2 separate regions of the Homo sapiens genome follow, and region 2 is linked to region 1. Evidence: promoter capture Hi-C in 16 types of primary human blood cells and fetal thymus (Javierre and others, 2016). All regions are on one chromosome and are shown on one strand. The core of a region is centred on a gene start or on the middle of the fragment in contact, and the rest is flanking DNA. Distances in the headings are between cores, read along the strand shown.

Region 1 (2,817 bases), core at 201-2,700:
ACTGCCTCTAACAGGGACTTTTTGATGGAAAATGTGGCCACAGACCCCTGCCCTCAACTTTTTTCCACATGCTGCGTAAGGATCCTCCTTGAGGCGATTTCCCCGGATTGTTCGTACGGGCGAAGCCCATTTCCCACCCGAAAAAACTTCCCAAACACGTCTACCTGGGTGGACTTTTAAAAGTGCAAAAAAGAGTTTTCGTTCCAACTCTAAGCTAGGCGAATCTTTTAAATGGCACCTCCTCCTGAAAATTAGGCACTTTATTCCCTTTCGAGGAATTTCTACCCCTTGTTTCTAATCTCCCCCACTCCCCCACCCCGACAGGCGGGGTAAAAAGTTTGCACAGGATTAAGTGTGAGGGCAAGTCAAGGAGCCTCCAGGCGCATCGCAGTGGGGAGCACTCGCGCTGCCCGGGCTGCGGGGTCGGGCGCCGAGAGCGGACCGGGCGCTGGGTGAGGAGGAGGAGAACGAAGGGGGAGCCCGCTGAGTGAAAAGGGGCCGCGGCCGCCGCTCATCAAAGTGCTTCCCCCTCCCCCAAGCGACACTTTCCTTTGGAGTCCGAATAAAATACGGTAACAGAATATGATGGAGGGCACACTGTTTCCTTAACTGCTTCTCAAAGGACCCGGGAGATCTTCTTAGGACCTTTAATAAGGCTTTGGTCGGTTCTTTTGTTGATCTCTCAAAATCAACTCCTTCTAATTGAAGTTGGAGCTGAAAGCGAGCTAATGTTCAAAGAAAGTGGCCGCCAGACCAACGAAATTACATTTTTTTTTTGACGATGAGGGAACATCTAATCAAAGAGGCAGGGGAGGAGGGGTGGGAGTGGGGGCGTACGAAGGAGAAAAGGAGGTTTTACAAGATCCTTCTCTGGTTCACAAAAGTCAGCGACACGGGCGCTTCTCTACAGAACAAAGACACCGCGGCCCATTCACAAAAGGGAGAGAAAGAGAGAAAGCTGAATAAAAGAACGAGAGAAATGGGGAAAAAATGAGAGAGAGAAGGAGGGAGAGAGTGAGTGAGAAAGAAGCTTTAAGAGGAAAAGAAACAGTGCAGAGCGCAGCGCTAACCCAGGCGGGGACACACCTTAGGCTCGCGCAGGCCCCTACCAGGAGTAGCCCGCGAGGCCCGCGGTCAGCCGCCCGCGGCTCGGAGCCACTGTGATCGTGCTGAGGTTTAAAGAAAGCAACGAAATATACCCCTTCCTTAGGTTCCGAGGAAAGGCGCCGGCTGGAGCGCACTAGTTTTGGGGGAAAGAATATGCGGACGTCCCGGGGTGCGCTTCGCCGGCGTCCGCGTCCATAGCCCGGCGCTGCCCTAGTCCCGGCCAGTCCGCTGTGTGCCGGGGTTGGCCCTCCAGTGCCGGGGCGCGTGACCTTGCCCCATTCCTCCACCTTAACTCATTCCTCCCTCCACCAGGCCCTGTTTCGCCTGCAGCCTCAGCACCTGACCTGGGTCCGGCGCAGCGAGGTGGGACGGCAGTGCGCTCTGGAATGTGCCAGCGCGGTCCCCGGGGTACGCCTCGCGGGAGGCCGGCGCTCTCGGTTCCAGATGCTGCCACCATTCTCGGGGAAGTTGGGAGGTATCAAGTAGCACGGATTTTTTTTTTCCTAATTAGAGTATTTATCTAATCCCAAATTGCAGGCGAATTTTCTTAACGCTCAGCCCATAAAACCCCAGGATTAAGAAAAGAAAGAGGAGAGGGGGAGAGGGAGGAGAGTGGAGAGGGAGAGAGACTGGGATGAAAGTTTCTTGAAAGCAGCGCAGAGGATTGAGGCGGCCGTCGCTAGGCAAATGTCCAGGTGGGAGATGCTGGGCCAGAAGCCATGACCGTTCCAGCATCGGCCGCGGTGCGGGAAGGGGAAGTGGGGACACCACTGGAGGAGGTGAAGCCGTCCAGCTCAAGGCCCTCGAGCCGGGAAGGGGCGAGGGAGCTGGGTGTGGAGACAAGGATCCAGCATCCAGGTGACCTCCAGGCCCGGCCAGGCTCTGGAGGACACTTGGGACAAGGGGAGGGCTTTGGATCTGAGGCCGAGGGATCTGACCAGGGGCGGAAGTTCTGCTCCGGCCCGCAGACTGTGCCCAAGCAAGCCCGCTGCCAACGCCCCTGCTCCTCTGCGACCCTCGGACCGATAGTCTCTTTTCCCGCAGCGCGGGCTTTCGAGTTCCGGGTCCTCCGGCGTGCTGGGCTCGTGCCCGTTCTCGGGAGCCAGCGTCTGGGCACCACGCAGCGATGTCCGGATGCAGCGCCCTTGCCGCGGGCCTTACCCCGCCAGGCGCCGGAGTCCACGCTCCACCGCCGCTGAGGGGCGTTCGGGCGCCACCGAGCAGCCCAAATTGAAACCCCGAGAGGCTCGGGACTAAAGCTGAAGGGGCAGGTAGAGGGGCCGCCCGGCGGTCCCAGACCATCCTAGCAAATCTGGGGCGAGGGAAGGGTTGTCAGTTGGCCGATTGGGAGCGGCTTCGGGAGCGAAGGAGCTGCTTTTCGGCGAGGCCCCTCGGGAGTGAAGGTTCCTCGAATCAAGCGTAAACTGGGTGGGTGCTGTTGGCCGCCCAGGCCCCAGGCTGCTTGGGGCGGGCGATTTCTGTCTGCTGAGTTTTCCCGGGGTTAGAACGGGATTCTGAGAGCGTTCCCCAGAGAGCAGCAGCTCTCTCTCTGCTCTCGTGCTCGAATAAAGAGGGCAAATACCGACTTCATTTACTTAAAATAACTTTTCAATAACTTAAAAGAAATGCTCATCATGAAGGAATTCTACCGTAGCAAGTTTTTATCATTTTGAAAGACTGGCAACTGGAGGTGGCTGCATACTTGGAACG
Region 2 (2,700 bases), core at 141-2,640, 440 kb before region 1:
TTGTCCCATCATTGTTCTTTTTTTAGGAAAAGGATTTTTGTTCACAGTAACATATTGCATTGTTATGTTTCTTTAGTGTCCTTCATTCTGGGTTATTCTTCATCCTCCGCCTTTTTTTTTTTTTTTACATTTTCATGACCTTAATATTTTTGAAGATATTAGGTGAGTTATTGTGTAGGATGATTGTAAATTTGGTTATATTTGAAATTTCCTCACAATTAGATTCAGGTTATGCATTTCAATGCATCCTATCAGGTGGTGCATAATTTCAATTTGTCCCTTTCCTGATGATATTCATGATTACCTGATAAGATAGTGTCTGCTCGGCTTCTCCACTGCAAAGTTACTTTCTTCTTTGTGATTAGTAAGTATTTCATAGGGAAATACCTTGAAATTATGTAAATATCCTGTTCCTCATGCTTTAAATATATTATTATATATGATCAATTTATTTTATCTCTGTGGACTCAAGTTTTCCACTTTATGGAGTTGTTATAGTCATATCATTATTTTATTTCATTATGTATTTTGATGTTTAAATTGTCCCTGATGTGGCCAGAGGGACCCTCTTCAAGCTGGCTTCTGTGTCTTTTTGACATGTCCCTGTCAAAATCTGAGCACTTTAATTCTTTCTGGTACAACAAATGTTCCAGACTCATGTTGTAATTTCCTTTCCCTAGCCTAGGAATCAGTCACTCTTCTAAGGAGCTTTGTTCCTTTTAGAGGGCAAGGGTTCTAGAAGCCAAGTTCTGCTTTAGGTGCACTCATTATTGGAACATTGCTGCTCCCAGGCCCTCTCAGTGGACAGAGCTTGCAGAATGTATGTATCTATGTATACACACATATTTACATCCATATTTATTTCTGTATCTATCTCTCTATATTGAAACCATGAGTTTACATTGGTACATCTCATTCCTATCTACCACCATAGGGTTCATTCTAATTTTCTCCCTTTCCATATTTGTATTTTTCTTCTCAGACAGTGGGAAACCTGGAGCTCCCCTATTTTTTATTTATTGACTTATCAGTCACCCTGTTTGCAGTCAATCCCCTATCTCTGTGGCTACTCCTTCCCTGTATAGATACCCTTCTCACCCCATGTGGGATTTGATATACCATGTTGGGTTGCCCCCATATGTAAATGTCCTCCTTACCTTGTTTAGCCTCTAATACCCTACACCAGGCTGTTGCTTCATGTGAGTGTTCTTACCCTGCTGGAGTTCTAACACACCATGTCAGGCTGACTCTCTGAATGGACACCTTCCCCATCCAGCTCTGGTACCCACTGTAGGGCAGGTTTTCTTAACTGGATGCTCTCCTTATTCTGCTTGTGTTTTGACAGTTTCCACTCTGGGCCAGATGCAGTAGGTCAGACTTGTGCACATAATTCAGGATTCTTTATGATCTTCATAGTTCTATTCTAGAGTTATGATATATATTTGGATGTATGGAATGATGAGTATAATTATAGGGTGGAATATTTTAATGGAGATATTGTCTGCATATGTAGTGCCTGTGGTTCTTAGATTTTTTAAAAAAGCCTTTTTATTGAAGTATAATATATGTACTGAAAAGTGTAAAGATCATAAGATTATGTTGTGAACCATCAGAATATGAAAACACCCATAAAATCACCATCCAGGACAACAAATAAAATATCAGTATCCAAGAAGTCCTACTCATGATTTTTCGCAATAAATCCTTATTAGATATATTCAGTCTAACCAGTAGACATAAACTGCATTCTTTAAAATTGTATGCCTCTACTAATGGCATGATGAATAAAATAGAGCTTTAACAAGTACACGCAATTGACTATTTTGAAAGACTATATTTGAAAAGTTAATTATAGCAGTAATACTTTTTTTTGAAGTTTTATCATTCAGTTTGAGAAAGTCTGGAGCAGTCAGTCACTAGGGGGCAGCCTGTACTGCTTCCACCTCTTTAGAAACAGTTGTATACTCTTTATCCTTATGTTAGTAACTGAGAATTATTTTGCATTGAAGAAAACAAATGTTCCTTCAATGAAAGAAATATTTTATTATTCATAGATATGAAGAAAATGGACAAAATTATTTTGTTCTCTTATATTTAAACTGGAATAATTCCTTGGTTAAATGAATCTTGACATCTGGGAAGCCCAGCTTTGCTTCTTAGGTAGCCCCAGCAAAGTGTCCGAATTTAGGTTTAGAAGGGGTTTTCCCTGTCTAAACAAGTTTCAGATAATAATGTATCCAAACGTTCCTCTAATCTTCCCTTTCTCGTCTGTGGATTTCTCCCAAATGCCGTAGAATAGGAACTAGACTCTTGAGCTAAATTGGAGAAAAGAAAACCACAGCTCAGAATCCAACAGGGCATTTTCTTCCATCCACTGATTTCATCTGGCATTGCTTAGTGGCAGTTCCTTTTGGTAGAACCCTGTGAAAAATATCAGAGGATGTGTGAAAGAGAAAACTTGGTGTTTCTTGATTTCAGTTCTTTACTAATCTTTTTCTCATGCCATTCTAGTTTTGTGTAAATCTTTTCTCATTAGATTGATAAACTTTCCAGTTTCTGCATATCCCTAGAATAGACGAACTCATCTCCGGATGCTTTTGAGCCATTTTATTTCTAGTAGCATAAGGAGACTGTTTCTGCTTTTCTCCCTATCCTTCCCCTAATATAGTATGGCTTGGCTTCTTATTCTCTGGGACTTTT

What was found. The method cuts DNA at HindIII sites, captures the fragments that hold promoters and counts their contacts. A CHiCAGO score of 5 or more calls a contact.
Region 2: a fragment that was not itself captured here is called in contact with the fragment with the promoter of EHBP1-AS1 in region 1 in 1 of 17 cell types (megakaryocytes); the score reaches 6.1 in megakaryocytes.

Annotation. Positions count from the first base shown.
Region 1 is chr2:63,047,154-63,049,970 of GRCh38, reverse strand. It overlaps EHBP1-AS1 (EHBP1 antisense RNA 1), which reads left to right and starts at 1,450. Exons shown (of 4, transcript NR_033389.1): 1 at 1,450-1,582. It also overlaps a transcript of OTX1 not described here. RefSeq lists enhancers at 1-639, 640-1,389, 3-1,411, 1,390-2,138. The HindIII fragment of the contact is 1,878 bases long and covers 1,033-2,817 here.
Region 2 is chr2:63,487,531-63,490,230 of GRCh38, reverse strand. All of the region lies in intron 2 of WDPCP (WD repeat containing planar cell polarity effector), which reads left to right. Among named protein-coding and RNA genes, the nearest start is that of WDPCP, 100 kb to the left of the region's middle. The HindIII fragment of the contact is 4,613 bases long and covers 1-2,700 here.